7 separate regions of the Homo sapiens genome follow, and all the other regions are linked to region 7. The links are contacts of gene promoters, found by promoter capture Hi-C in blood cells and fetal thymus (Javierre and others, 2016). All regions are on one chromosome and are shown on one strand. The core of a region is centred on a gene start or on the middle of the fragment in contact, and the rest is flanking DNA. Distances in the headings are between cores, read along the strand shown.

Region 1 (2,700 bases), core at 103-2,602, 780 kb before region 7:
GCAGACAGACCAAAATCTGGGTGTTTCCATCAGAAATTAGCTTTCACAACCAATTGATGAGAGTTCGATAACCCTCCCAGGCACTTTAAGGCCAGCAACAATTATCAAAAAGAACAATAGCATCTCTTTGAGCAGATACTTATAAAGTTAGTCGAGTAACATTAAAAATTATAACTTACTTTACAACATGTAGTTGCCTCAAGTGAATACAGGAGACCAACATAAAAATGTGTGTATGAATTTATAATCCACATTTCTTTTTTAATAAAAAGGCCAATGTGTACTGGTTTAAACACGTGACCAGAATGGAATATTTAAATATTTACTAGATCATAGTCAAGCGGTCAAATGCAAACAAACAATATAAACAATGGAGCACTAGATAATTTTGAGCTGGAATTTTAAAATACGTGTGTGACTACTTACAGTATGATATGTACAAGTAAAAATAAAATTCCCCAAATCTCAAAAAAATTTATATATATATAATATATATTTAAATATATATAATACATATTTAAATATATATAATACATATTTAAATATATATATAATACATATATAAATATATATATACATATATATATATATATATATATATATATATATATATATATATATATATGAAAGGAGTAAGTTTCAGGCAATGTCTCCACCTGACACTTTCTTATTAAGCTTTTTGAAATTCTTAAGTCCAGAAGTCTATCCAACTTCTCTGAAAGTTTAGGAACTAATCTGCAAAGAAATTCCAAGGAATAACAGAGAGCAAACTCATCACAAATAATCAACATATTATATAACCAAGAGAGGAAAACTATAATCTCATTACTTGGAGCAGTAGAAATCCTCTTTAATTTCAAAACTACTCAGAGAAAAATTAACTGAAGAGGCAACTAGATTACAACACATGAGATGACTTCTAAAATAAAAAAGAAACTACATGGCCAAAAGGCCATCAATAAGCACTGTCTCTGATCATGAGAGGGAGGTTCTTCTTTTTCTTATGAAAAGGCTAAGCAATTCAAAAACACAGTTTAGAGAAAATCTAAGTTTGCCCATTAAAAAAAAACAGGGCAAACTTCTATCCAACTACGTTTAAAGCTCCCTGAAGACCACAGCTATGATTTTTATTTCTGGGCACTTCCAAAGTGCTTATAAAAAGGCTATCTGCTCATATATATTTATACTTATCTGTCTATTGATTTGTAATAATAAACATTTTATATCAGAGTAACAAAAAGCACAGATCTTGGGTCTTCTTTTAGTAACAAAGTATAGAATTAACAGCTAAGGTTTAAAGAGTCATCTAGTTTTAAACTAAATTACTCAATTTAAATGAAGATTTTTAAAAGGTAATTCTAAAATTGTAAACTGTTTATCCATGAAAATGAGCATAAGATACATAATTCTATCAGTACTAATGCTTGTGTTCTCATTAATATTACATTTATTTTATTGGTTCTGCGCTACACAGAAAACCTGCTGTTTTCACATACGACCTTGCTATACCAATATACTTTCGCATAATGTCATAAACGATTCTAGAAAGCAAGTCATAAAAGGCTGCAAAGCTACATGTTTTCTTCAGTTCCCTTCACGCTTCAGAAGAATAGGAAGTTAATTATAACACTTGATAGAGTCACTTCACTTATTAGAGGATTAGGGTATGTGGGAATGCAATTTAGTTACTCTAAATAAAGTCAATTTCAACCCCTTCTTAAATATAAGGCCTGTACCATTGGATTTATGATGTTTATCCAGAAAAGGGTACAATCTCTCTAACCTGTGATATCTGTATAGTGACCTTTTGTGATTCTTGTAATCTCTCAAGATGAAGGGAACAATGTTTCTGTTTAAAAATAAAATAAAAGGTTAAGGCTAGATGCTACTAGACTACATTTCACTAATTTTTAGAGGGAGTGAATAATCACTAAATACTTTCCAACTGTTGGAAATGTATAATACTAAAGTGATAACAATTCAAAACACTTGTTTTTTTTTTTAAAATCAAAAGGGATCTACAGAGTAACTAAGCTTTGGATGGGTTTTCTTATACCCTATTTCCTCTTTAAAAAGATACATCAGGTTGAAAAAGAAAGCCACAGTAGTGCATATAATGGTTTACAGTTTGGCCTTAGAGTCAGACAGATCTTAATTTGAGTATCAGTTCTGCTACTTCCTAGTTATATTATAGCTGTTTTCTCATCAATATAAGCAATAATACCTACCTCTCATAAAGCTGTTACAAAAATTAAATGAGATAAGGTATAGAAAGCAGGTATACGGCCCAGAATTAAGGATAATAAATGTTAATTATTATTTCATACTTAGCCATAATAAATTGTATTCTCAATTTCCTTAAGAATTAAACTTTTGTGCTTATTTTGCTCTTACTGCCTCTGAGTAGCTACTAATTTATGATTTAGGAAATCACATCAAAATAGGAAATTCCTCCCCAACTGCCACCCTATTATTAAGGGTAAAAAGAGAGTTCTTGTCCCAGTTCTTAAGCTCTTGTTCCAGTTTCAACCAATGATTCTGTGTGAATTTTCCTCTCTGGACCTCGATTTCCTTATGATGCCATTAACAAAGTAAATGTCAAATACTAACAGATAAGCCTGAGGAAAACCAATAGTCTTCGCCTCCAGTTACTGAGACAGTGAACCATATAAACTTGCAGATTTATGCCTCCTGCCCCCT
Region 2 (2,700 bases), core at 107-2,606, 960 kb before region 7:
GCAAAACTTTAGGAAACAAACAAAATATCTATCAATAGAAGAATGGTTACATAAATTACATTACATCTCTACCATGAAATACTACACAAAAGTGTTTTCACTCAAGAGAGCAGAAGAGTGACTTGGTCTGTTGCATTTTAAAATGATCCCTCTAATATATTGAGGGTGGTCTGTCATAGGATGCAGAAGGAGCAATGGCAGATAGAGAAGATCTGTTAAGATGCTATTATAGCAACGCAGACAAGGTATTAATGGTAGTGAGAAGTGATCTAACTGTGTGTGTGTGTGTGTGTGTGTATACATACACACAAATATAGACATACACATACACAAATTTGCTGACTGACTAGATGAGAAATATGAGAAAAAGAAAGGAATTAATGATGGCCCAGAGTTTCTGGCCTGAGCTGGAACAATGGAATATTTCTATCTAACAGATGAAAAAACTAAACCACTTAGAGGTTAAAAAACCTGTCCAAAGTCACACCAATAAAATGGTAGAGTCACTAGAATTCAGGTCCATCTGACCGTAACTCTTAATCGCTGTGCTACAATGATTTATTTGTCTAAGGAACTTCTGCATCTGTTACTGTGCCCAGTATTAGTGCGTATTTTCTTATTTAACATGAACTAATAAAAAATACTATGAGCTAGATCATTTATTAGCCAAATAAAAGTATTTTTTAGCTATATGCTTAATAATTATAAGATTTTTAAGGGACTTTTAGTCAGCAAATGACTTATTATTGAATGGCATTAATTGTCAGTGAAGATCATTACTGCCCTCCAGGATGACAAGCTTCATAAAATCTCAACACCCATTACACCCAACCTCCAATACAGGAGAGAAGACAAGCAAATTTGTTATCTGTGCTAATATGTTAAACAGAAAACTAAAATGAGATACATAAGAAATACAAAAATATGTATGCATATTAAACTTCTATGTAATCTACACCACACTTGAATGCTCTTCTCCAACTTGAGTCAGAAGACCATGTATGGTACTCAGAATGGATTCCAAATCTAAATTGAAGAGACAGTGAAGCAAAACTCTTCTAATCATTTTAGATATTTCCATTTTATTTGTGTAGGCCTACATACCTTCTTATTTGGGTGCACTAATTATCTTTTAGGAATCTCTGACAGTGTATTAATATTAGATAAACCTCAGGGAGGTAGGAAAATTATATAATAAAAGACAGCAGGTGTGATGCATCACACCTGTAATCCCAGCACTTTGGGAAGCCAAGGCAGGAGGATCACTTGAGCCAAGGGTTTGAGACCAGCCTCGGCAACAAAGTGAGACAGTTAGCCAGGCATTGGTGGTGTGCACCTGTAGTCCCAGCTACTTGGGAGACTGAGGCAGGAGAACCGCTTGAATCTGGGAGGTGGAGGTGGTGGTGAGCTGAGGTCGCACCACTGCACTCCCACCTGGGCAACAGAGCAAGACTCTGTCTCAGAAAAAAAGGAAATACAGTCGGGCTTCTGTATCCACGGGTTTTGCACCTGCAGATTCAACCAACTGGGATGGAAGATAATAGCATTTGTAGGATGTGGAACCCACAGATACAGACGGCTGACCTTTTGTATGTGTGTATAGGACGTTTTCCTATCTTCAGGGCAGACTGCCGAACTTGAGGAGCATCCATGAATTTTGGTGTCCGTGGACATTTTGGGACCAATTCCCTGTGGATATGGCAGGACAACTGTAGAGATGAATTTAACAGCCAGTTCAAATGCCTTTAGTCAAAAGCATGCCCAAGTTTACTCAGCAGATGAAAAAAATCTGTAACATAAACTACACTATTCCGATATGAAGAAGAGATGTAACAGTATATTGGAAATGAGCTTTTTGCCTAGAAAAGGATATTCAAACTCATGTCTTTGTTACTAAAAATAGTTTGGGAACTCAAGCTTTATAGTTAACTTCAAACAGATTCTGAAAACATATCTTAAGCGTTTGAAATTAGAGGAATAACATCTATTTTTCCACTATCTTCAAACACTCAACTATAATAGACACTAGACACTTGAACATGTGATTTTAAAAACAATCATGACAAATTTCCTGCATTATGATTTAGGAAGTTTAGCCTTACCATCTCTTACCTGTTAAGACAAAAAAAAGAAAAAAACAAAACAACAACAACAAAAAAAACACCTACCACTACCAAAAACAATGTAAAGATTATTTCCTTTCCCGTCCAGCAGGTAACAAATTAGTAGTTCTGATGGGCTATGGACCCAGAAGTTTATATTTTAAGGACCTATACCTGGTGATGACAAGTATGCAGGAAAGAGGGTCTGAATTTCCACGATCAATGAAATGAAATTGGTTCTGAGTGTTACAATGCAGAGTATTATAGTCAACCTCATTTTAACTGAATGCTATAAATTCATTCAATTAAATGTTAGAAGCTTGGTATGAGAGGAAAAAAAAGGGCTTTAGAGTCAGAGAAATGGGTTCAAATCAAATACCCTAGTTTATTATGTAACCTTTTACAAGTCAACTTCTCTGAGCCTTGGTCTTTTCACCAATAAAATGAGGATAATACTGCCTCTAACACCATTTTTATAAATATTAGATAAAGAAGATAAATTGAGCATGTGGCACAATGACTATCACAAAGCAATGCTCAGTCACCATTTGTTTTCTTCCTACCCCCTCTATACTAAATGTCAGAATCTCGCCTTTAG
Region 3 (2,700 bases), core at 15-2,514, 940 kb before region 7:
TGCAGTGAGCCAAGATTATGCCTCTGCACTCCAGCCTGGGTGACAGAGCGAGACTTTGTCTCAAAACAAACAACAACAACAAAAATCCCAGGAGTCTGGATCACATTAAGCATTAATAAGAAGTGCTGAATATAATTAGCGAATAACAATTCTGAAGAAAGTTATCTTCTTTGATACTATGGATTCCTGATGTTAAAAAAAAATTTTTAAGATAGAATATGGGACTGTCCTTCCTGCTTTTTGATTTGGTTCAAATCTGAGGAAGTGGGGGCGACCAGTCTTTAACAGATCTAGCAAGACTGTCGAGCTTTAGGGAATGGTAATTTCTCTAAAGCCAACACTCTATGTCCATTATATTGGAGATCAAAACAGACAATGGCATTTTTTCTAAAGAGGGGGAGGGAAAAACAAAACTTTTTGTCTAATTTGGGGATGCAGTCAGACGTGACTTAGTTCATAAACACACACATTCATCTGGCGCTAAACCTCACATAAGGAACCTTACCAGCTTCCTTGATAAAACAACACCCCAACACTTCAATCTAGAGATGGAGGGTAAAAATGTAGGGTTGTGATGTCTAGCTGCCCATTCCACGAGAGTCGCCCACCACGCCAAATTCGGAGGCTTGCGGTATTCACCTACGGGGAGATGGCGGGCTACCTCACCCCAGGTTTCCCCTAACACAGAGTTGCAGTCGCTGAACAAACTGCCCTGCGTTAGTCAGAAGCTGTTAAGTAACGAGATGGCCACGGTCCACAGCAGAAGAGATGGAGATAAGCCTCAAGCGGGAAAAATGAAGTGTACAAATGCCAAATGCGGAGAAAAAGAAGAAAAGCTGCAAGAAGGCAGGTCAGTCAGGAACACCGCCATTTCTCACATCTCATCGCTACTTCGAATTTTCTCATCTAAGGACCCGCACCCGCACGGTTCACACTGTCTTCTTCCCGCTATCACTCCGTGTGGGTCAAACCTCTGCCTGCCCACTGGAGAGCAGCGGGAATGGCTTCAGGAAGCGGCTGCCGCCTCCGAGACTCACCGACCTGCCGTGCTGCCACTTCTACACCGAAATGGCTGGTCCGAGGCCGCGTCTCCAGAGCTGCGTCCCAGAAGCCCCCGCTTTCGATCCCCACCGCGATGCTGCAGCCGTCCGAAAACGAGAGACGCGCAGGCGACGTCCCGGCCCCCGTAGGCGGACGGCTCCGCGACCCCCGGATGTTGATATGTCGTCTGCCCCGGAAACGGTGACAGGAGGCTCAAGGGGGCGGAGGCGGCGTTGCCGGGCTCTCCGGAAGGAGACGTGGCGGCGGTTGGGCCGGTGATACCCGGGCGCTTTATAGTCCCGCCGCCTCCTCCTCCACCTCCTCCTCCTCCTCCTCTCCTCCTGGAGCAGAGGAGGTTGTGGCGGTGGCTGGAGAAAGCGGCGGCGGAGGATGGAGGAAGGAGGCGGCGGCGTACGGAGTCTGGTCCCGGGCGGGCCGGTGTTACTGGTCCTCTGCGGCCTCCTGGAGGCGTCCGGCGGCGGCCGAGCCCTTCCTCAACTCAGCGATGACATCCCTTTCCGAGTCAACTGGCCCGGCACCGAGTTCTCTCTGGTCAGTGCCCTCACTAACCCCGCAGCCACCCCTCCTCCTGACACTAAGGGTTCGGCCTCTTCCCTCGGTTTTCTTTGCTTTTTCTCCCCAAGACCTTCTCTGCAGACTCTTACCTTCCCCAAGCCAAAGCTGCTTTTATGCAGCGTTCATTCATTCGTTCGTTCTCACGTTATGTGGATGCGTCCCCCTTGCTGAGCATTAGGGATCCAGCAATCACCTGCTCTCCACCTTTTCAATTCTGTCGCACTAGACCTTGCTTCCCAACATTCCCACCCTGCAGAAGCAGCTTTCGTAGAATAACGTCAGGTGCACTTACTCATCTTCCTTTCGGAAAATTAACTGTGGCTCTTACTTCACCAGCAGACTTCTTTCCTTCAGTATTACATGTCACCCTGCCCACACCACAGTACTTCAGACTCGAGTTCCCTCTCTCGTATTCGTTCTCCCTCAGTTGTATACACACACGGACATACGCAAACGCACAGCTCCAAGGGAACTTTTTCCTTTCCTAGTTGTTTCTGAGAGGGCTATTTGGCCTGTGAGATGTTAACGACCCTTTATGCAGAATATCCTTTACAGTTTTCATGTATTACGACTGTTATTTGAGTCCCCAGAACATGAGCTTCTATGTTGAGTTTTCCTGTAGTGAAGAACATTTGTAACCTCGCGGAAATGAAAATTCCCTCTTGGGGGAGTGGACCGCTGAAAAGTCTTCCTGTCCACGTGTACCTACTGCAGGCTAATAAATATTGTACTCTTATGACACTTACCATGTAGTAATTAACTCATTTACTTCAAATTGAAGTCCCGGAAAAAGCAAAATTTTTTTAAACTTTTTATTCCAATTACCTTCAAGCATTCAACTTGCAATACTTTATTATATTCTTTCATTACCATTTCATTGAAACAGTAAGTGACACTATGATGTCAAAACAAGATGTGTCAAGTTAATGGATGTTATTACCACATAGCTTTCTATTTGCAAGTGTTAGGGGTTTTTTGGTTTGGTTTGGTTTGGTTTGGGTTTTTCTGTTTTTGTTTGTTTTTTGAGACAGGGTCTCAGTCTGTTGCCCATTCTGAAGTGCAGTGGTACGGTCACCACTGGCT
Region 4 (2,700 bases), core at 1-2,500, 800 kb after region 7:
AAAAAAAAAAAAAAAGGCACATAATGATCATCTTCATGCATTCAGGTAAGATACTGTGTGCACATTCACAAAATAAAAATAGACTAAAGGATGGTTTATGGAATACTATGCAGTTGCAAAGAAAGCACAAATTTATATTTTTAAAAGATAAAGATATAAGAAAAAAATTCATAACTGTACATATAATCCTATTTATGTAAAAAATATATATATATATATGGTTGTCTGAAGATATTTTGGGACTCCAAACACCTTCACAATGACCACTGAAGACCCCATTCCACAATGGACTCCACCTAAATGCTGAGTTGGAGTTATAATAAGATTTGGTTACCAAGGCATTTATTTAAGTGAGTATTAACTTTGCTCTTGCCCTTGAAAAGCTCCTAATTCTAGTTATCTTTATCCAAGCGTAAGAGATTAAAGACCCGCCTGAAGATACAGATGCAAACTGACCGTAAGACAATCAGCGAGTCTCACACAGCTCGGCTTTGTATTTTCAGACAACCCTTTAATTACAAACGCCTCTGGGCCAATGGTCTGAAAATGGTTGGGACTGAGGTGCTGGGGATACAATGATGAACTGCAGCCGCTGAAGCCCTGTCAGGTGGAGACCCGGTTACCTCAGACCCTCACTGAGCCTTTTCTTTTTTCTTTTCTTTCTTCCTGTTTTTCTTTTGAGACGCAGTCTCCCAGGCTGCAGTGCAGTGGCTCACTGCAACCTCGGCTTCCCGGGTTCAAGCGATTCTCCTGCCTCAGCCTCCCGAGTACCTGGGATTACAGGCGGCGCCACCACGCCAGGCTAATTTTTGTATTTTTGGTAGAGACGAGGTTTCACCATGTTGGCCAAGCTGGTCTCGACCTCCTGACCTCAGGTGATCCGCAAGCCTCGGCCTCCCAAAGTGCTGGAATTACAGGCGTGAGCCACCGCGCCCGTCTACTGCGCGTTTTCTAAACCTTGGCTCCTACGCATTTATCAGAAGAGAGAGCGCAATCTGTCTATGACTTCCAGCCAATAGCTACACTTCTTTTCTCAGCCCTCGTCCACTGTTCTTTTTTAACCAATCAGAAACGTTTTTCAAACGTTTGCCCTCCCCGCTAAGTGCGCAGGCTCCTGGAAAGTTGTCTTCACTTCCGGGCCGCGGTCTAGGGCGGCTACGTGTGTTGCCATAGCGACCATTTTGCATTAACTGGTTGGTAGCTTCTATCCTGGGGGCTGAGCGACTGCGGGCCAGCTCTTCCCCTACTCCCTCTCGGCTCCTTGTGGCCCAAAGGCCTAACCGGGGTCCGGCGGTCTGGCCTAGGGATCTTCCCCGTTGCCCCTTTGGGGCGGGATGGCTGCGGAAGAAGAAGACGAGGTGGAGTGGGTAGTGGAGAGCATCGCGGGGTTCCTGCGAGGCCCAGACTGGTCCATCCCCATCTTGGACTTTGTGGAACAGAAATGTGAAGGTAAAAACCAGAGCCCGAACCGACAATCCTTTTCTCCTCTCTCACACCAGCGGCGGGCAGGGGGTTGGTAACCACAAGCCATCTCTCGTCTCCCCGACCCCCTGTCTCCACCCCTGTCGCAAGGTCTCGTTCCCCTCACCACCTTCTCCACCCGCGTCATCAGGTTTAGAGCTGGTTGTGTGGGAGGAATTCCTTTCACCCTGCCAATGTGTTCCTTCGCAGACCTGAAAACGGGGACCGAGACTCCCCTTCTCTGGGGCCGAAGCGCACGTCCGAAGAACATTAGACTTGAATCGTAAATTCGGTCTCTCACCCTGTCCCGAACGTTTCTGCCCTCGGCAGGTGGACTGTTTGGCTGGGCTTCTTCAACAGCTTTGCCAGACTTGAGAGGAGAAGCGTCGGTTTACCTGAGTTCCTTATGATCCCTAGCATTTCGCCCGGTGTAGTCAGCTTAGGAAATGAGAAATGATTTCACTCCAAACCAACAGTTAACTGCAAAGGAGGGCATGTGATAACTCCAGGAAGCCCAGAGCCGGTGATTTTGGTGGCCTGTGTTCCCCTTGGTGAGCTCTCTACTCTTCGCTATACCAAAAATTGGCGAGGTGGGGCAGGACCATTCTTGGAACAAATGAGGCGTATAGATATGGCATAATATTCCCCGTGAAGGACAGGCATCTCCGGGTTCTGAGCAGTTCTTCAGGCTTGGAGTTCTGCATTCAGTTCGTGGAGACTATTTGCAGCCCATTCGCAGAAAAGGAACCAGAAACCACGTCATATAAATGAGTGCCCAAGCGTTATTGTGGTTGTTTAATCGGGCAAGACTTTGAGGGTAGTAGTATTCATCAATTATTTGAACATCTGCTTTGTGTTGTAAGGTTGAGTAGAATAGAGCTAGGGTCAGTTGGTACAAGCTACAGGGAAACAAATTTCAGTGAAGGAAGTGTTTCATGATAGAATGTATCCAAGATGAGTTAGCCAGCCTCAGAAGGTAATGAGCTTCCCGGCTCCAGCAGTGTTTGAATGGATCTGATAGCGACTTAATAGGGTTAGAGGGATTCAGCTATTCAGCTATCAAATGGTCGGTTATCCTGGATGACCTTTTAAGACTTCTTTAAATTCCAAGATATCATGAATCTGGTAAAGATGAAATTCAGTTTGACCACTGAATCTTTTCATTACATTTTCATTGCTATAATCAATATTCAAATCGTAGTTATTAAAGTGTTATTTTTACAGGTAATTTTTTAACAA
Region 5 (2,780 bases), core at 198-2,697, 970 kb after region 7:
ATTTTTTTGCTTTTTGTATGAACTGGGGTCCAAATTTTTTCAAAGTACACGTAAAAAATTTAGATATATGAAGTTTGCATTAGCAATTCCATTTATTCTAAGAACGATTAAAGCAAACTTTTTTTTTAAAAAGCGGTCCCCTAAAAAAAAGTATGGGCTTTGTAAGCAAAAAACAGAAATTCAAAAACCACCTAGTCCCATAATACTAACTTTTTTATAGACTCTTAGAAAGTTATCTAACCTTTTTTGAGCCTCTGTAGTCTTAACTATAAAATGAGGGTAATAGTACCTTTACGACAGGTTTAAAAAGATTGCGAGGATCATATAACTGGCGTTCAAAAAACTGACTTTTCCTTTTCCTCCTAACCCAGGGTCATAGTGGTCACACTTTAGGCAATCAATTAGATTGGATGACATGATATCTTGTACTCCTAACTTCAAGTCATCCTTCCGTCTTAGCCTCCCAAAGTGCTGGGATTACAGGTGTGAGCGCCTGACCTTTTGCCATCTCTTTGCATCGATCTTTGCTTTTGTTTCTCTCTGTGTGTCTCCTTGCCTCTCTCCCTGTCACTGTCTCTCTCTCTCCCCTGCCTCCCTCTTGGTCTCTTTTTTTTGCTGTCTCTTTCTGATGACCTTGTTCCCATCTCTGTGCGTGTGTGGCTCTCTCCCTGTCCATCTCTTACCATCTCTGCCTTCCTCTCCCAGGTCTTAAACGAATATTTCCACAATGTCTGTGAACTGGACCTGGTGTTCAACTTCTACAAGGTAGGCTCCTGGTGAAGAGGAGGCTGAAGGAGCCCGAGGAGTGGGACGTGGGGGACCCGTGGTGCACTAGCCACCCGGAGCCTCTGCTGAGGTCTGTGTCCCAGCTCGAGGGGCATCAGAGCCCCAGCTTCCAGGGTCCGGGCCAGCATCCCGGGGGGCCTCGTCTCACCCACGTCAACTCGTTATTCCTAGGTGGAATGTTTCCCACTTAAGAGCCCAGTGGTCCCGGAAAGTAAAGAGATCGGAAGTCAGGTGGACGGACAGAGTCGGATGGAGCAAAGAAGCCCGGCACACACCAACAGAGAGAACGACATAGCGCGGGAAGGAGGGTCCGAGGAGACACATTCCAAACCCGGAAAGGGAAATTTGGAATTTAGGTTTAGGGTAAGGAGAGATTAAATAGAGCTGGGATACCGGGTTTCTACCCTGGGAGATGAATACGCTCAAGCTGGCTGGACAAGACACCTTATGACAATACAGTGAACGCACGTCACTCCTTACCTGTTGCCTAAGTCCACGGCCACAGCTCGAGACCCTGCGCTACTCCATAGTGCTCGCACTTGCAACTGGGTGAGTGCCCGATCCCGCCGTGGCAGAAGGAAAGGACCATCGCTCAGGGGCCGGAGCCGGAGGCACGAGCAGCAGTACCTGCAGGCCGCCATGACACCCGGCACGCGGTCAACGCAGGCTGTGCCCTGATTGGCTCACTCCGCAGACCGTGGGGCGGAGCCTGATGGAGTTTCGTTTCCGCGGTGCCCGAGGGACGCCGGGGTAACGGAAACCTTGGCCACCTTCTACGAAGACTAGAGAGGGTCAAACCTATCAGAACGCGATTATGTTGCAAACGATCTTTGTCTTTATGTGCCAACGAAAGGCAATTAGATAAATAAGGTTTTTGTGTGTGTACTATCGTAATTTAAAGGAGAAGTCCTAGAATAATGTAAATGTTTAATATGCAGAGTAAATTTATATTTACTTTTAATACTAGAAGTCATAGAACAACACATTATTATTATTTGGATCTGTGAACTAAGAATTAGAATTTGGGTGGTGGGCCTTGGAAAGAGATCTCCTTCTCCCCTTCTCCGCCCTGGTTTTTATTTTAAAAATTTCACATAGCAGATATGTTACTACAGCGATTTGTGTTAACCAATTTACAGTAAATTCATTTTTCATCGACTTGTAATTTTAGAAATCTTTATTGTCACTTCTGATTCATTTTCATTTCCATTGCTAATAATTAGCAATTTATATTTCTGTCCCTTTTGGTCGAACTCTTAAATGCAAAATGCCAGCTACTGTTTGAAGTAAATATTTTGTAAAATGAAAAAAAAAAGTTTTTGGGATTTGAAAAATTTTTAGAGAATGGATAAATTTCTTCCACCCCATTAATCCATTCTGTTAGAAATTCTTTATGTTTTTCCTTGAATGAACCAATGGGCATTTTCATATTATGATGTAAATTTTTTGTGTAAGGTGATAACCGCCTTACCCCAAAGAAAACCAAACAACAAAAACCCAACACTCATTCAAACACAGTTTTAAGAATTAAAAACGTTGGCTGGACGCTGTGGCTCACGCCTGTAATCCCAGCACTTTGGGAGGCCGAGGCGGGCGGATCACCTGAGTTCGAGACCAGCCTGACCAACACAGAGAAACCCCGTCTCTACTAAAAATACAAAACTAGCCGGGCATGGTGGCTTATGCCTGTAATCCCAGCTACTCGGGAGGCTGAGGCAGGGGAATCGCTTGAACCCGGGAGGCGGAGGTTGCAGTGAGCCGAGATCGCGTCATTGCAACAAGAGTGAAACTCGGTCTCAAAAAAAAAAAAAAAAAAAAAAAAAAAAAAAGTCCGGGCGCAGTGGCTCATGCCTGTAATCCCAGCACGCTGGGAGGCAGAGGCGGGTGGATCACGAGGTCAAGAGACCCAGGGCATCCTGGCCAACATGCTGAAACCGCGTCTCTACTAAAAATACAAAAATTAGCTCGGTGTGGTGGCGCGTGCCTGTAATCCC
Region 6 (2,700 bases), core at 134-2,633, 810 kb before region 7:
TACCTTCTCAAGTTTCAAAACCAAGCCCATAGAGTATAAACAAAGAATGGCTTCTTTTTCACTAACTTACTTCAAAGCTTATTAATATTGTATATTAATAGTATCAAACGTTAATTTGCTTTTTCAGACTTTCAAGACCAAATTCCTCTTAAAATTTTGTTTTCCTTCTATAAAGCTTCAACCACTGGCAAACCTGAGCATCTTAAATATTTTTGCATGATCAAAAATATGTATGTATCCAAAATCTGTTAGTAAAAAATAAAATCAGATTCCTTTACATGAACGTTATGTCTTTACTGAAATTAGATTTCACCAAAGAGAAAAGGCCTGTACTCAAGAGTAACAAGAATAAAGCACAAGAGAGTTCCCACCCTCCCCCCGCCCACTGTTAGAGCAGGGGAAGTGCTTGCTATGAGCCATCCTATTAGAGTATGTGTCTCCCCACTGCTGCCATAAACACTTAGTTTTCTGAAGTAGAAATATACAGTCTGCAGCTTATGCAGTCTGTATCTAATGCCATATAATATTAAATCAAGCATGAATTTTAATTACTGTCACTTTAGTTACTGTCATATTATACAAATTAAAAAAAGCATTCTTTATAACCAATTATTCTCCATAGTTTTTACTATATCTAAAAAGCCTGTCATTTGGGAATTTAAAGTTTTTCAAACAAGTTTCATCTAAGAGTCCTGACACCAAATTTCTTAAAATCCATGTGACACTTTGAATTGTTTTCTTATCAGGGAATTTGAAAAATAATCATTTATGCTGACTACTTTAAAAAATCCTGTATAAGATTGTAAAATATTAAGTAATGTATTTAAATAAAAGCCTTATCTTCTTCCTCGACTTTTAAAACTTGGATTAAAATACAGCTTCCATATCTCCTACACAGAGGTGACCCTTGAACAACACAGGTGTGGGTCTACTTACACGCAGATTTTTTTTTCAACTAAATGTATTAGCCAGATGAGAAATCTACACATATGGAGGGCTGACTTTTCCTGTATGTGAGCTCTACAGGGCCTACTGTGGCACTTGAGTATGAATGTATTTTGGTATGCTGTAGGTCCAATCCCCTAACTTCACCAAGGGAAGACTATATATAGGACATATCTGGGTAGTATACATTACAGCTTTTGTTTATTCTTATCCACCATAATTTGATCTCTTCTTGCCTACCACAAATTAACTGGATTAACATGATTTACAATAAATGCTTCTCAGCAAGTGTAGCTATTTATTTATTTATTTTTCAAGATAGGATCTCCCTCTGCCACCCAGGCTGCAGTGCAATGGTACGATCATGGCTCACTGCAGCCCCAACCTTCCTGGCTCAAGTGGACTCACATACACCTCAGGCTCTTGAGTAGCTGGTACTACAGGTGCACACCACCTCGCCAGCTAATTTTGTTTATTTACTTTTTGGTAGAGACAGGGTCTCGCTATGGTGCCCAAGCTGGTCTCAAATCCCTGGCCCCAAGCAATCCTCCTACCTCCACCTCCCAAAGCACTGGGATTACAGGCATGAGCCATAGTATCCTACCTCTTCTGACCTTTAGAAGATTTTTTACTAAAAGAAATCTCTACCCATTACCCAAGTAAAATATCATGACTGTATCTCTTTGTGACATTATAGATCTCATTGTGCCCAGGATGTAATCTGTGATATATTAAACTGTTCTGGTAGCTTTTAGCTATGCACATAATCTTAAGTGAATAGTCTTAAGGCACTGTCTTACAGATCTATATTCTGACTAAAAGCTATGTTAACAATATGTAAGTCAAATCAAATTCCATCACTACCTCTCCCTTCCTCATGTGAAATCCATCCTACTCATTCACTAGTTCATTTTACAAACCATAGTATCATTTAACCTAAGGAACAATACAATTCAAAAAAATAATTCCAGCACAACATACTGTAAATAACACCCTCTATGTAATAATAATAAAATTAAATCTGCTTCATAGCTTCTAGATAGTACCAGGCCACCTAACATATAGTAAAATGTATTAAAATATTTGTACCACTAAAAAAGGACCTATGAATTTTCAACAACTATAGTATTCGTACCACTAGATGGGAATCTTCTTTAGATATGATTAGAGCAGGACTATGAAAAGAATCACTGGTAGGAAAGAAGGGATGCTGAAAAAGAAATAACTAATAACACAAAAACAAAATATATAATACAAATCACATATGTAAATGAAGGCTGGGCGAATTGTCATGAAACAGCTGTAAACAATAATATAAAATTCTTCCTGTGTATAAGTGAAAGAACATCCTATCTTCCCAATAACCCTTCCCCTTCCAAATAAAAATAAACATAAAAGATGTAAAACCAAGCCACTAATAGATTTTTTCCCTTCAAAGTACAAATGTCTCACAAGAGACAGTTAGGCCTATTTTTGTGTTCTATTATCCAATTCAATCCTAGGTAGCAATAATAACTATAAACACAAATGAAAACCTGGCTCTTATCCTGCCAGTGAACAAAGGGTCACTAAATAAAGAGAAATCTTATATGTTGCTAGATTTTAAATTAACTCTGAAAACAGGAACTACTTCCAAGTCTGACACATAAGCTTTTAAAAATAAATGAAAACAGTCAGAAGGTGAAATAAGGAGAAAACAGGGTTACTCACCGTGGAGTAGTAACTGTTTCCTTTTCTGTGTGCAGCTCCCCCAGC
Region 7 (2,700 bases), core at 186-2,685:
ATCTGTAATCCCAGCTACACAGGAGGCTGAGGCAGGATAATCGTTTGAACCCAGGAGGCGGAGGTTGCAGTGAGCCAAGATCACGATATTCTAGCCTGGGCAACGGCCTGTTTTGTCTCAAAACAAAACAAAACAAAAAGAACAACAAAAACTTACTGTCTTTATATAATTCATTTGGCACTGTTTTATGGCACGACATCATTGATCAACTATATTTTTGCTTCTATCTCAAACCTTTCTCAGGCCGTGTTTTTGTTTTTGGCAGTGTTCTTGTTGCCTAGCACAGTGCCATCTCACTTATTTGTTGATTCTGTTTCCTTAAAAACAAAGATGAGACCAATTCAAATCCTCATTACTGCGGGCAGCAACAAATCATCCAAACTCTGGCACTTCCAGTTCTTTCGAGCTTTCCTACCAGGTCGGAGGGTTGTCTTAAAACTTGAGGGAGATGAACTGAGTAAGCGATTACACTGAAAGCATGGGAGGGAAAGGACGTTCCAAACGTCCAATCCATCATCCTTTTGCAGCCTCTTAGTCACTGGGATTTTGAAATCTCTTTCCAAAGACTAGCTATGGCCCTAAATTGGAAATAGGCTACTTGAGAACACAGTGGATTCATAGTTCATCTCGGGCAGTTTTAGGAGAAATGCCACCAGCTTCTGCGTTTGAAGGCCAAGGTTAGCTGTTCATGGCGTGAGCACCTTCCTGCTTCCAACCTCCGGTTATCTGTAAATACCCAAGTCCTCTAATTTAGGACGCAGGTCATGGGAAGACGCTGGTTCTTAGGGCAGAAGTGAGCTCACATTCCCAGCATTTTTCTTAAACTTGGCAGAACTGCACTTTAACAAATTAAAATCCATGTGAATGAAAAGGAAAACTTAAGTAGGAAACAAACTTAAGCTTGAGTCAGTTACAGCATGGTGAGGATGTCGGTTACAGCAACACTCAGAGACCGATGAAGGAGAAATTCCAGTGGTGGGCTGGGAGACCGTCTCCATTCCAACTCCACCGCTTTTCTCTACAGAGACCCACGCACGCCAGCTCCCGCCTCAGTCACAAGGGAACGCCCGCGTGGGCAGGCAATCGTCCTTGGTGAGCCGGGATCTCCTCACCCCGAGAGCCGCAGGCTCCGCTGACGCCGGTACAGGTCTCGCTGCGACTCCCTCTGGGCGCGCGGAATCCTGGGACTTGTGGTCCCTTCCGCGCGCTGTCCGCCCTAACCGGCGCAGAGAGGACTACACTTCCCAGGATGCGTCGGGGGAAGAGGCCACAGGGACAGGCAGAGGGAGGGGGCGGCCCCAGTCCTCCGGGGCGTCGCTGTTTCCAAGCGGCGAGATCTCGCCTAGTAACCGGCAGCTGAGGTTCACTAGCGCGGCGTTGTGGCCCCGCCCCCGGAGCCCCGGCTGGAGGAAGAACCTGTCTCCCGCGGCGCCCCAGTGACGAAGTCCATCCCCGGGTGCGGGAGGCGGGGAGGGGAGGGCAGGCAGAGGATTTCGCTCGCTCGCCCGCGCGGGATCCGGGACGCGCCGGTGGCGTCCGCTGGCAGCAGAGGTTAGAGGCAGAGAGCGCGCGGATGCTCCGCGGGCGAGGCTGGTTCGAGAGTGGGAGGAGTGCAGGGCGCCGCCAGGGCGGCAGTGCGCGCGGGCCGAACAGTCCTGAGGGCGGGCATCCCTCGCGCAGCGCGCCGACCCCCGGGACGTGTGCGTCTGTGGGGGGTTGCTGTCCCCCGGGTCCCTCGGGCGACCCCTCTCCACGCTGGGCTCAGGGCAGGACCCGGGATTCCGTGGGACCCGGTGTTTAGCGCAGAGGTTTCTGGGGAGAAGTACACGATTTTTGCCACTTGTTATTTGATTTCTCCTCGACCAGGAGCGTTTGTAGGTAGCGCACTCCCTCCGACTGCACTAGTGCCTCGTTTCTTCCGAGTAAGACAATCTTTCATGATGCGGATTGGAGTTGCTGATCAATGAGAGCTGCTAAGTTCTTTATGGCTTTCTCGGTGAAGAGAAGGTTCACGGAGGATATGATTATTAAACACACACATGAAAACTAATTGGAGCATCTAAAAAATGACCATTGCATATTCGCCCTCGCTTATTAGGGAAACAGCAAGCGTTCCTTCAAATCGCATCAGCAACTGCCAGGCAGCAGCATTTACGCATATTTCATATCATTAAGGAGATGGAACTGGAGAGAGAAAGCGGGAGTAGGGGACAATTTTTAAAAATACCCAACTTGGTTTAGTTTGGGGATAATTTTCTTGGATTGGGTGACTTATGCGAAAAATCTGTTTCTTTCTTCCTCGCTCTCGCTTCCTGGATATAGACTGTCAATTTCGGATCCAAAGACGGCGATGGCAGAGCTCACCCGGGTTGCCTGTCAAATCAAGGCTATCGCAGAATAAATCCCGCCGCCTGCCGCGAAGCCCCGGCGCACCGCAAACTTCAGTGAGCGAACTGGGTGATCGCTGTTGGGATATGCAGATTCCTGATGTAAAAGGCGGGGTGGCCCCCCCGAGAGCCTCTCCCGGGGGCCGGAGCCCGCAGGTGCAGTGAGGCGCGCGCGCCGGTGCCGGCGCCCCCAGAGCCGCCTTGCCCGGGTAGAGGGAGCCCGGCGCCCGGCGGGGTCTGGCGGCCGCACACCGGCGGCGGCGGCTTGTCTGCGGCGGCTGCAGCGGATGATGGTGGCGGCCGGCCCGCTGGG

Evidence for each region. Contacts are between HindIII fragments. The CHiCAGO score rates a contact against its expected background, and 5 or more counts as called.
Region 1: a contact is called between a fragment that was not itself captured here and the fragment with the promoter of EML6 in region 7, in 1 of 17 cell types (total B cells). The highest score is 5.1, in total B cells.
Region 2: a contact is called between a fragment that was not itself captured here and the fragment with the promoter of EML6 in region 7, in 2 of 17 cell types (non-activated CD4 T cells and activated CD4 T cells). The highest score is 6.2, in non-activated CD4 T cells.
Region 3: the fragment with the promoter of ERLEC1 here is called in contact with the fragment with the promoter of EML6 in region 7 in 10 of 17 cell types (naive CD8 T cells, non-activated CD4 T cells, total B cells and 7 more); the score reaches 14.4 in naive CD8 T cells.
Region 4: a contact is called between the fragment with the promoter of CFAP36 here and the fragment with the promoter of EML6 in region 7, in 1 of 17 cell types (naive CD4 T cells). The highest score is 5.9, in naive CD4 T cells.
Region 5: a contact is called between the fragment with the promoter of PNPT1 here and the fragment with the promoter of EML6 in region 7, in 2 of 17 cell types (naive CD4 T cells and activated CD4 T cells). The highest score is 5.5, in naive CD4 T cells.
Region 6: a contact is called between a fragment that was not itself captured here and the fragment with the promoter of EML6 in region 7, in 1 of 17 cell types (total B cells). The highest score is 5.3, in total B cells.

What each region holds. Positions count from the first base shown.
Region 1 is chr2:53,940,376-53,943,075 of GRCh38, forward strand. The region is part of intron 3 of PSME4 (proteasome activator subunit 4); the gene reads right to left. Among named protein-coding and RNA genes, the nearest start is that of PSME4, 29 kb to the right of the region's middle. The HindIII fragment of the contact is 1,359 bases long and covers 674-2,032 here.
Region 2 is chr2:53,761,898-53,764,597 of GRCh38, forward strand. All of the region lies in intron 2 of ASB3 (ankyrin repeat and SOCS box containing 3), which reads right to left. The region is part of intron 2 of GPR75-ASB3 (GPR75-ASB3 readthrough); the gene reads right to left. Among named protein-coding and RNA genes, the nearest start is that of CHAC2, 4.6 kb to the right of the region's middle. The HindIII fragment of the contact is 1,118 bases long and covers 798-1,915 here.
Region 3 is chr2:53,785,780-53,788,479 of GRCh38, forward strand. It overlaps ERLEC1 (endoplasmic reticulum lectin 1), which reads left to right and starts at 1,265. Exons shown (of 14, transcript NM_015701.5): 1 at 1,265-1,593. The coding sequence starts at 1,432. It overlaps ASB3 (ankyrin repeat and SOCS box containing 3), which reads right to left and starts at 1,174. Exons shown (of 10, transcript NM_016115.5): 1 at 1,042-1,174. All of the region lies in intron 1 of GPR75-ASB3 (GPR75-ASB3 readthrough), which reads right to left. RefSeq lists enhancers at 664-1,322, 838-1,257. The HindIII fragment of the contact is 9,655 bases long and covers 1-2,700 here.
Region 4 is chr2:55,518,468-55,521,167 of GRCh38, forward strand. It overlaps CFAP36 (cilia and flagella associated protein 36), which reads left to right and starts at 1,251. Exons shown (of 10, transcript NM_080667.7): 1 at 1,251-1,449. The coding sequence starts at 1,335. RefSeq lists enhancers at 552-601, 1,782-2,031. The HindIII fragment of the contact is 7,670 bases long and covers 1-2,700 here.
Region 5 is chr2:55,692,397-55,695,176 of GRCh38, forward strand. It overlaps PNPT1 (polyribonucleotide nucleotidyltransferase 1), which reads right to left and starts at 1,448. Exons shown (of 28, transcript NM_033109.5): 1 at 1,267-1,448. The coding sequence starts at 1,427. RefSeq lists a silencer at 638-697 and enhancers at 1,268-1,387, 1,398-1,457, 1,488-1,637. The HindIII fragment of the contact is 6,564 bases long and covers 1-2,780 here.
Region 6 is chr2:53,911,216-53,913,915 of GRCh38, forward strand. The region is part of intron 20 of PSME4 (proteasome activator subunit 4); the gene reads right to left. Among named protein-coding and RNA genes, the nearest start is that of GPR75-ASB3, 53 kb to the left of the region's middle. The HindIII fragment of the contact is 2,420 bases long and covers 174-2,593 here.
Region 7 is chr2:54,722,227-54,724,926 of GRCh38, forward strand. It overlaps EML6 (EMAP like 6), which reads left to right and starts at 1,436. Exons shown (of 42, transcript NM_001039753.4): 1 at 1,436-1,551; 2 at 2,323-2,700. RefSeq lists an enhancer at 969-1,188 and silencers at 1,329-1,818, 2,490-2,639. The HindIII fragment of the contact is 5,681 bases long and covers 899-2,700 here.